2 separate regions of the Homo sapiens genome follow, and region 1 is linked to region 2. The links are contacts of gene promoters, found by promoter capture Hi-C in blood cells and fetal thymus (Javierre and others, 2016). All regions are on one chromosome and are shown on one strand. The core of a region is centred on a gene start or on the middle of the fragment in contact, and the rest is flanking DNA. Distances in the headings are between cores, read along the strand shown. Region 1 holds the start of STX1A (syntaxin 1A). Region 2 holds the start of VPS37D (VPS37D subunit of ESCRT-I).

Evidence for each region. The method cuts DNA at HindIII sites, captures the fragments that hold promoters and counts their contacts. A CHiCAGO score of 5 or more calls a contact.
Region 1: a contact is called between the fragment with the promoter of STX1A here and the fragment with the promoter of VPS37D in region 2, in 17 of 17 cell types (erythroblasts, naive CD8 T cells, endothelial precursors and 14 more). The highest score is 15.1, in erythroblasts.

The regions. Positions count from the first base shown.
Region 1 is chr7:73,716,200-73,721,432 of GRCh38, forward strand. It overlaps STX1A (syntaxin 1A), which reads right to left and starts at 3,470. Exons shown (of 10, transcript NM_004603.4): 1 at 3,403-3,470. The coding sequence starts at 3,432. RefSeq lists silencers at 2,866-2,945, 3,056-3,115, 3,126-3,325, 3,386-3,585. The HindIII fragment of the contact is 14,118 bases long and covers 1-5,233 here.
Region 2 is chr7:73,665,724-73,670,413 of GRCh38, forward strand. It overlaps VPS37D (VPS37D subunit of ESCRT-I), which reads left to right and starts at 2,108. Exons shown (of 4, transcript NM_001077621.2): 1 at 2,108-2,373; 2 at 3,696-3,867; 3 at 4,297-4,379. The coding sequence starts at 2,236. RefSeq lists silencers at 1,719-1,768, 1,779-1,878, 1,989-2,288 and an enhancer at 2,270-3,265. The HindIII fragment of the contact is 11,431 bases long and covers 1-4,690 here.

The DNA of each region.
Region 1 (5,233 bases), core at 2,220-4,719, 52 kb after region 2:
AGGAAGGATCGGGCGAGCCCTGTCCGGCTCCTGTTCTTACACTCTCGTGCCTGCCACTCTGCAAAGTAGGTAACACTGGCTCCATTCTGCAGATGAGGAAATGAGCAGAGGGAGATTAAGGATGAACCTGCCCGGTGTTGCCACCCAACCGCCAGACTCTTCCCAGCAACGAAAGAGAAGGGGAAACTGATGGGCAAAGCAGGGCCCTGGGCCTTCCCATCCAGGCCTGCCTGGGCTGCTCCAGTGAGTTGGGCCCTAGTCTAGACCTCAAGGCACTTCAGGGGGCCCCAGACACCAGCTGTCAGGACCACCTGCTATTCTCTCCTGGTTGAGCATTCCAATCTCTCTGCCTTCACTAAGCTGTCCCCTCCTTTGGATCACCTTCTCTCCTCCTATTCAAATCCAGCTCCTGCTCCTGTGCTATCCCAGGGTCTCTTCTTCCAGGAAGCCTTCCAGGATTGTGCTGCTCCAACTCTCCCTCCTTGCTACGTCTTCAGCCTCCTGCAACAGGTCCCATGTGTCTGTCCCACATGACCTGGCACATAGACAAATACATGTTCTGGGCCCAGGGAGAAAGGTCAGCTCTGCAAAGTCCCCAGGAAGAAAATCAGGGAGTCTCTGAGTTGAGGGGAGGAGGCAGCTACAGCCTGAGTGGGGCTCCTGGGGATGCTCTAACCTAAAAGTCTTTCCCTGGCTGTGTGACCCTGGCCCTGTCTTCGGTCTCTCTTTGTTACCTGTAACCTGCAAGTGGCCTTTCTGATCTCTGAGGGACTGCGACAGCATTGAGGCCCCCTGGCTAGTCCCCAGTGACCCCCTTCACTCCCCATCTGCAGAGGGAGAGTTGGGAGCTGGAGAAGGCTGGAGAAGGCTGGAGGGCTGGGCCGGGCCTGCAGAGTGAGGAAACGCGCCAGCTCCTTCCCCAAGTGTGACTTTTATAAATAAGCTCTCTTCGCCTCCTTCCAAATGTGGTGGTGTTGGGTGGGGGAGAAGGAGAAAGAAGAGGGAGGAGGAGGAGGAAGAGGGAGGGAGGGAGGGCTGGGAGCGGTGCACAGCCGCTGTCCCCAGCACCATCTCTGTTCAGCCCAGCCCAGCCCAGCCCGCCCCAGTCCAGCCCAGTCCAGCCCAGTCCAGCTCAGCCAGTGCTGGCCTCTTCCTTTCTGGGGATTCTGGGCTGAAAATTCTGACTCCTGGGGCTTCAGGCCTCCTACAAATGTGGAGCTGGAGTCAGGAGACCTGTAGCCCTGCTTCTCGTCCCGAGAAACTGAATTCTAGGCTTTCCCATCCCCACTTCACAGATGGGAACCCTAGGTCCAGAGGGAAAGCAGCCTGTGGGAACAGTGGCCCCACCAAGACTGACTGTCTCACCCCACCCCGGGTGGGCTCCTGCCTGCCAGCCGTCCACCTGTCTGCTAGAAAGCCCTCCCTGGGCAGGGCCACCCAGCAATGGGTACAGCCTCCCTGGGCTCTGAATGCCTTGTGTGGGGAGGGTGGGGGTGTCTGGAGCGGAAGCCTCAGACCATTCAAAGCAAAGCCTGGCTTCACCATCTAATCAGGGGGCGAGGAGGTAGTAACAGAGACAGACATCAGAGCAAAAAGATCTGGGTTCAAACGCTTCACAACCCCAGCTCCACTGGCTGTCCCCCAGTGTCAGCCAGGCCTGAGTCTGACTATCTTCAGGGATGAGGCAAAGCCCTTTTCTACCACCCCTCCCTCTAGCAGGCAAGCCGTGTTTCTTTTGTGCCTCAGTTTCCCCTTCAGCTAGGGGGATGAAGGCTGACATGCCAGAGGCTATTATCCTATGTAGGGGCCCATGGTTCCCCTGACCACTTGGTTCCCACACACACCCTCAGGTAACCTACCAGGCGCCTAAACATCAGCACATTACACCACACAGCCATCCGTCACCAGGAAAACACTCATTCTGACTCAACGGAGCTCAGGAAACTTGAGGGCAACCACAGGGGCCGCGGGGGAAGTGTTTAGAGCCCATATGCGACTTGAGGGACCATCTTCTTCCTTTGAAACCTCATGGGGTTTACACCAGGGGCTGGGCGCTCGGCCAGGAATAACAGGTCTGGAGGCAAAGTGGAGGCCGTGGTGCCAGAGCAAGTGGGGGACATGAAGGCAGGGGAGCCCAGGTCCCGGCTCCAGGATGCCCAGGAGGCAACCATGACATAATGGGGCAGACAGGCTCCAACTCAGGGAGCCTCTGGGTGGAGAAGACAAGCCGTGGGGTCAAATGCCCAAAGGACACTTGACATTTTCCATAGGAGGGGACCTTAGGGTTCTAGTTCCTAGCCCAGGGAGCGGGGTGGGGGGTGCTCCCAGGGATCAGCAGGCAGGGCTGCCAGCCAGGTGGCCAGCCAGGGGACCAGATGACCAGATGAGACTCAATCTAGTCTTGAGCCTTGATCCACCCCCCCTCCCCGACACACCCAGAGAGGCTTCATTTCCGTCGCTGTCCTCCACTCCCGGTCACCATCCTCCTGGGCTCCTCATCCCTAAGGGCAGAGGCCAGGGGAAGGGGACCCACGCAGGCTGCAGGGGTCTCTGGGCTGGGAGAAGGTGGGCTCTGACTCAGAACGTTTGTGCATCCTCCTACTCCCCCCAAACCCCGCCCCAGGAGCCACACCCCAGGGGTTTCCCAGATACAGGTAGAAAAATAGATCCAAGTCGCAAGGAACCCTGAAGGGTCTGGAAACGCCAGCCAGTGCTGCCCGAAAGCCCGAAGGTGGATAGGTGGACCGGGGGCGGGTGTGACGCCCCCCCCCCCATACCTGGGGCGGGCAGTGGATCCCTACTGCGACCAAGCAGAGGGGGAGCCACAGGTGATGGGAGCCACAGGTGACCAGGGTGGCCCGAGGAGGCCGCCACCACCCGACGATCAGGTTTCCGCAGCGCGCCCCGCAGCGGGGCCCCGCGCAGGGGACCGGCACCGGCCCACCGCGGTCCCCTCGTCTGTCTACACCAAGGAGGTTCCCACCGCGGTCCCCTCGTCTGTCTACACCGAGGGGGCACGGGAGGTCAGAGATGAGGGGCAGTGAGGGGGCCAGAGAAAGGGCCTGCTCTGCGGGAGGGGGAAGAGGTCCCGCCACCAAAACCCCATCATACCCTCCGAACCCCCCAAATCAAGAGGGCCCCGAAAAGTTTATCCAGGACCCCGGACTCCAGCCGACCGTCCACGTGTCAGCGCGGCCGAGCTCACGCGAGCCTGACCCCGAGTGGGTCCGAGGGGCGGAACCCGGAGGGGGGTCGAGGTCCCTGGCTCGCCCCGCTCCCTTCAGCCCTGGCTGGGGGCGCAGGAGCGGCCACCATCCTGGCCGCGGGAGCCGGGCGGGAAGTGTCCGGCGCGTTGGCGCTGGCGGCGGGCGGCGGGCGGCCGCGCGCTGGGGCCGGACTCACCGTGCGGAGCTCCTGGGTTCGGTCCTTCATGCTCCCGGGAGTGGCAGCGGCGCCGGCTGCAGCCGTGTGAGCCCCGCATGCGCGACGGCCGCCCCGCGGCTGCGCAGCGCCAGCCCGGCCCCGCCCCGGCCCCCGGGACCCCGGCCCCGCCCCACCCCGCCCGGGCCCCGCCCAGACCCCGCCCAGACCCCGCCCCACCCCGCACGAGCAGCCCCGTGGGGATCGAAGCCCTGGGGTCTCGTCCTGGACGTTCCGCACGCGTGATCGCTCCCGGGGATGGGTCCCCAGAGACCCTGCTGCCTCCTCTGCCCCAGCCCTGTCTCGTTTTTTATTTATTATTTTTGGAGACAGGGTCTCGCTCTGTCGCCCAGGCTGGAGTGCTGTGGTGCAATCATAGCTCACTGCAGCCTTGAGCTCCTGAGCTCAGGCAATCCTCCCGCCTCAGTCTCCTGGGTGGCTGGGACTAGAGTTGCTCGCCACTACTCCTGAATAATTTTCAAATATTTTGTAGAGACAGGGTCTTGCTATGTTACTCAGGCTGGTCTTGAACTCCTGTCCTCAAGCGATCCTCCCTCCTCCCAAAGCTCTGCGATTACAGGCGTGAGCCACCGTGCCTGGCTTCCAGCCTCTTCCCGACTTAGCAGCTCAGCATCCCTGTCCCAGAATCCGGTCCTCATCCTCAGATCCCTTCACTTCCCCAGAATTTGCTGAAGGTTGTAACTCCCTCCTTCATTTCATTACCTTGGGACCTCCTGCTCTCCCTTCTGTTCCCCAGCCAAAAACCTCCTGGAGAGTTCCAGTCTGGGAGCCTCCACCCTTCCCCCTTGCTCCCATCATCCAGTAGGGACTCAGGCACTGGCCTCTTCTTTCCCTAGGATTTCTCAGTTCACAGCTCTGATGCTGCGTGACCCACCCCTTTTTCCTGCAGGATGAAGGAACTCCTCTATCTTTTTATGTTTGTTTGTTTGTTTGATTATTTATTTATGAGATGGAGTTTCACTCTTGTCGCCCAGGCTGGAGTGCAGTGGCGCTATCTCAGCTCTGCCTCCTGGGTTCAAGCGAGTCTCCTGCCTCATCCTCCCAAGTAGCTGGGATTACAGGTGCCCACCACCACGCCCGGCTAATTTTTTGTATTTTTTAGTAGAGACAGGGTTTCACCATGTTGAGCAGGCTGGTCTCAAACTCTTGACCTCTTGATTCTCCCGCCTCGGCCTCCCAAAGTGCTGGGCTTATAGGCGTGAGCCACCGTGCCCGGCCTATTTTTTTTTTTTTTTTTTGAGACGGAGTCTCACTCTGTTGCCCAGTCTGGAGTGCAGTAGCACGATCTTGGCTCACTGCAACCTCCACCTCCCGAGTTCAAGCAATTCTCCTGCCTCAGCCTCCCAAGTAGCTTGAGATTACAGGCACCCACAACCACGCCTGGCTAATTTTTTTGTATTTTTAGTAGAGAAGGGGTTTCACCATGTTGTCCAGGCTGGTTTCGAACTCCTGACCTCAAGTGATCTGCCTGCCTCAGCCTCCCAAAGTGCTGGGATTACAGGTGTGAGCCACTGCACCCAGCCAGGAACTACTCTATCTTTGGGAAAGAGATTTGAGTTATGGCCCCCCTCTCCTCCTTTCCCTGCATCCCCAATCCTGAACTCTGGCTCTAGGCCTGAGGTTCTATTTTCTCTTTTTTCGTTTTTGTAAAGACGGGGTCTCCTCATGTTGCCCAGGCTGGTCTCAAAGTCCTAGCCTCAAGCGATCCTCCTGGCTTGGGCTTCCAAAGCACTGGGATTACACTTGGCCAATGTAGGTTCTATTTTCTATCTAGAAGCCTGGGGCCTGGCTT
Region 2 (4,690 bases), core at 858-3,357:
TTTCTCCTTCAACTTGAGAACTCCTATTCAACCTCTGAAACCCAGCTCAAATGCCACCTCCTCTGGTAAGCCTTCCTAATTGCTCTTTGTACTTTTGTAGCAGTGTATTAAGGTGGAACAAGCTCAGTTGTCGTTGTTGTTTTTTGAGACGGGGTCTTGCTCCATTTCCCAGGCTGGAGTACAGTGGCAAAATCATAGGTCACTGCAGCCTCAACCTCCTGGGCTCAAGTGATCCTCCCACCTCAGCCTCCTGAGCAGCTGGGGCTACAGGCACGAACCACCACGGCCGGCTACTTTATTTTTTATGTTTGGCAGAGATGGGGGTCTCATTGTGTTGCCCAGGCTGGGTCACTCATTGTCTGACTTAATTTCTGAGTGTCTATTTCCTGAGATGGGGACAATGGCTTAACCTATTTGTAAAGACAAGGTACAGGACATATCGGGGATCACATGGGAATCACAAAGCCATCATGAGGTGACACCTGCCATTTGTCTTATACTAGAATTAGTTGAGTGGGAATGGGACTCTGCCTTAATCCATGAACTCCCTGAGGGCAGGGACAGTGTCCCCACAGGGCCTAACCCAGTGTTCAGCGCAGAGCGGCATCGTATGCTCTGTGGACACTGTACAAATGAGAAGAAACGGGACTGTATCATTTACCTGTAATGTGACTTTGGGGAGGCGACATCATCTCTTTTTTTTCTTTTTTTTCTTTGTTTGAGACGGAGCACGGAGTCTCTGTCGCCCAGGCTGGAGTGGAGTGGTGCTATCTCGGCTCACTACAACCTCCGCCTCCCAGGTTCAAGCGATTCTCCTGCCTCAGCCACCTGAGTAGCTGGAATTACAGGCGCCCACCACCACGCCCGGCTAATTTTTGTTGGTCAGGTTGGTCTCAAACTTCTGACCTCAAATGATTCACCCACCTTGGACTCCCAAAGTGCTGGGATTACAGGCATGGGCTACCGTGCCCGGCCTCTGTGATGCTTCTGCATGTCTAAAATAACAAGTGGGTATTGACCTACTATGTGTATTCATTATAACATTGCTAGCCATATCACTATCCCTCAGCATTTTAATTTTACTTTTATAGAGATGGGGTCTTGCTGTGTTGCCCAGGCTGGTCTCAAAACTGAGCTCAAGCAATCTCCCACCTCTGCCTCCTGAGTAGCTAGGACTACAGACGCATGCCACCATGTCCGGATACTTTTTAAAAGCATTTAAATACTTTTAAAAATTGTTCTTTTCACTCTTTTTTTTTTTTTTTTTGAGACGGAGTCTCGCTCTGTCACCCAGCCTGGAGTGCAGTGGCGCGATCTCCGCTCACTGCAAGCTCCGCCTCCCGGGTTCACGCCATTCTCCTGCCTCAGCCTCGCGAGTAGCTGGGACTACAGGCGCCCGCCACCACGCCCGGCTAATTTTTTTTGTATTTTTAGTAGAGACGGGGTTTCACCATGTTAGCCAGGATGGTCTCGATCTCCTGACCTCGTGATCCGCCCGCCTCGGCCTCCCAAAGTGCTGGGATTACAGGCGTGAGCCACCGCGCCCGGCCTCTTTTCACCCTTTTGACAATTTTTAAATTTTTTTAAATAGAGACGGGGGTCTTGTTATGTTGCCCAGGCTGGTCTCAAACTCCTGGCCTCAAGCGATCCTCCCTTCTCGGTCTCCCAAATCGCTGGAATTACAGGAGAGAGCCACCGCGCCCGGCCAGCAAGTCAGCGCTCACCATCTCCAACCCCATTTTACAGAAGAGAAAACTGAGGCTTGGGGAGGGCTGCAAGGCAGGAGCCCTCGGCGCCCGGCCAAAGTCAGAAATTTGTTGTTGCCATCCGAGGGGAAAACGTGCACGGGCTCTGCAAATTGTAACCGCCCGGGGTGGGAGAGTCCGTGCCTGGGGGCGTGGTGAGCCAGGGCCGGTGCTGGGGCGCAGAGCAGGGCGGCTCAGATTCCGGGAGGGGCGGGGAGATCGGGTTGCTGGGCGATCCTGGGGTGCTGGAGGCGGCGCGGCGCGGCCGGGGCGGGGAGGGGTGCGGCCCGCCTCCTCCCTGCCCCACCCCCAGCCCCGGCGCCGCGGCTCCTTTAAGAGCGGGAGGGGCGCCCCCTGGCGGCGGAGCGGTGCGTGCGGCCGGAGCCGGAGCGGATCCTGGAGCCGGAGCGGAGCGGAGCGGAGCGGAGCCGGGGCGGAGCGGGCCGAGCGGGCCGAGCCAGCAGCCGAGCTGGGGGCGCGGGCGGGCGGCATGTACCGGGCCCGGGCGGCGCGGGCGGGGCCGGAGCCCGGCAGCCCGGGGCGCTTTGGGATCCTCAGCACCGGGCAGCTCCGGGACCTGCTTCAGGATGAGCCCAAGCTGGACCGGATCGTGCGGCTCAGCAGGAAGGTAGCGCGGGGGGCTCGAGCGGGGGGCGCGGGGGACGGGCAGCGGCCTGCGGGACCTGCCGCTCGAGGGAAGGGCCGCGCGGGCCGGGCCGCGGGGCCGCCCGTGGGCGCGGAGCCTGGCACGTACGAGTGGGCCCCGCGGAGCCACCCCCGGGGGAGGGGGCGCTTGGAGCTGGCCTGGGGCGGGTGGGGCGCCGGGGACCCGAGGGGGGCGCCTGTGCACCCCCAGGATGGCCGCGAGGCGTGTCCTACAGCGGATGCTCCGGGGAGGTGTGTTCCGGGGGGCTGTGTTGTGGGGGGCCCTGGCTCGCACACCCACGTTCTGTAAGGGCCAGAAAGAGGAGGCGCCTTCCACTGGGAGAACTAGGGGCCTGTCTGACACCTGGAGGGGCCGTTGGGGGTTCACGCATTCTGGGGGCGCAAGAGGGGGCTTTGTGCCTGGCGTTGGGGAGGGGTGCTGGAAGCTGCCGTGTGTATTGCATAGGCCACCGTAAGAGAAAGTTGTATATTTCACGGGAGATAGGCCCGGGCTGGTTGTCTGTGGGGGGCAGAAAGGGCAAGTGTGTGTTGAAAGCAGGCAGGCGAGGAGGGGCTTGTGCATCCCACAAGGGACAGATGGAGGGGAGTGCGTTCTCCAGGGGCAGGGAGGGGAGGTTGGGCCCTGCTAGAGACAAGGAAAAAGCCTTCTCCAGGGCCGGGGCTGCTGTAAGCCCGGAGCAGGGAGGAAAAGGGGGTGTGTATTCCTTGGGGTGTGAGGATTCCACTGGAGGCAGAGGAAGGGGTGGGAAGGGAAGAGAGGGTGACCCGAGGGGGTGCTGTGAGGGGACGGGGTGCAGACACCCCTCTGGAGAGGATGAGCAGGGGGTGGGAGTGTTTTCGGTGCAAACACCTGAGGAGGAAACAGACAAAGGCCTGGAGTGAGAGGGAAGCTGTCCATGCATGGAAAATGGGGCAGAGGAGGGAGGGGCACTCCTCCGGGACCTGAGCAGACATATTAATTGAAAAATTAAAAATTAACTAACATTTGTAGAGGCCTTTATAGTTTTCCTCACTTAAGTCTCTCAACAACCCCATAAGGTGGATGTTTTTTAACTCGATTTGTAAAAGAGGAAACTGAGGCCAGAGAGGGAGCTCAGGGCAGAGCCAGTTCTGGTCCCGGCCTGTCATCGTCCCTTCACCTGTTGGGTTCACCACCCTGAAGGGGTGCCTGACAGGTGCCTTTGGCCTGGCCCTCAGGCACGGTCGCCCAGTAGGGTGGACGGGGCAGTAGGGTGGACAGGGCAGATCCCCTGAGCGGGCCTCTTAGCTCCTCTCTGCCCGCAGTTCCAGGGCCTGCAGCTGGAGCGTGAGGCCTGCCTGGCCTCCAACTACGCGCTGGCCAAGGAGAACCTGGCCCTGCGGCCCCGCCTGGAGATGGGCCGGGCTGCCCTGGCCATCAAATACCAGGAGCTTCGTGAGGTGGCCGAGAACTGCGCGGACAAGCTGCAGCGACTGGGTGAGGGCACGTCTGGGAGAACCCCCTGGGGCTGGTGGGGGCAGTTGGCCATCCGGTGGGTTGGCCTTGGGAAGTGCCAGGCTCTGATGGATGGGAGTTGGGCGGACCTGCTCCTGGCTTGCTGGGCAGTAGAGTTGAGGAAGTGAGAGGAAGTGGGGAGGGTTGGGTGGGAGAAAGGGGACCCAATACGCAGGGTCCCCCTGAGATGCTGAGGGGGACAAAGCCTCCCCTGTCTCTTTTGTACTAGGACGAGGAGCAGAAACTTGGTAGGGGCCGGATCCACAAAGCGGTCACATGGGCACGGTACAGATGAGGAAACTGAGGCTCTAGACCAGGGGAAAGGGAAATATAGAATCACATGGGGTCAGCGGGAGAGTGCAAGCCCGGGGCCCTGGCCTGTCTGTCACTCTGTCCCTCTGTGGCCCTCAGAGGAAAGCATGCATCGCTGGAGTCCCCACTGCGCGCTGGGCTGGCTGCAGGCTGAGCTAGAAGAGGCGGAGCAGGAGGCAGAGGTGAGGGGAGGGGTGGCTGGGGCTGGGGGCCAGGAGGGAGACCCATTCTCTGCCACCCCCTGGCTCATTCTTACACCTCAGGCTGGGGAGCCCCTCCTCTGGGAAGTCCACCCTGAATGCCTGGCGCATGCCAGAGCCTAGCATTGCTGTCCACCAGCACTGGACAGCCAGCAGGGCTCACTTTCCTACCTGTGAATTTTTTTCGGGCTCCCCTGTGACTGGGCTAGGGCAGCGTGGATCTGGGGCTACAGAGGAGCTGGGGCAGACTTTGTGCTGGGTTGGGAGTGCAGCGATCAGTGAGCTGAAGGTGG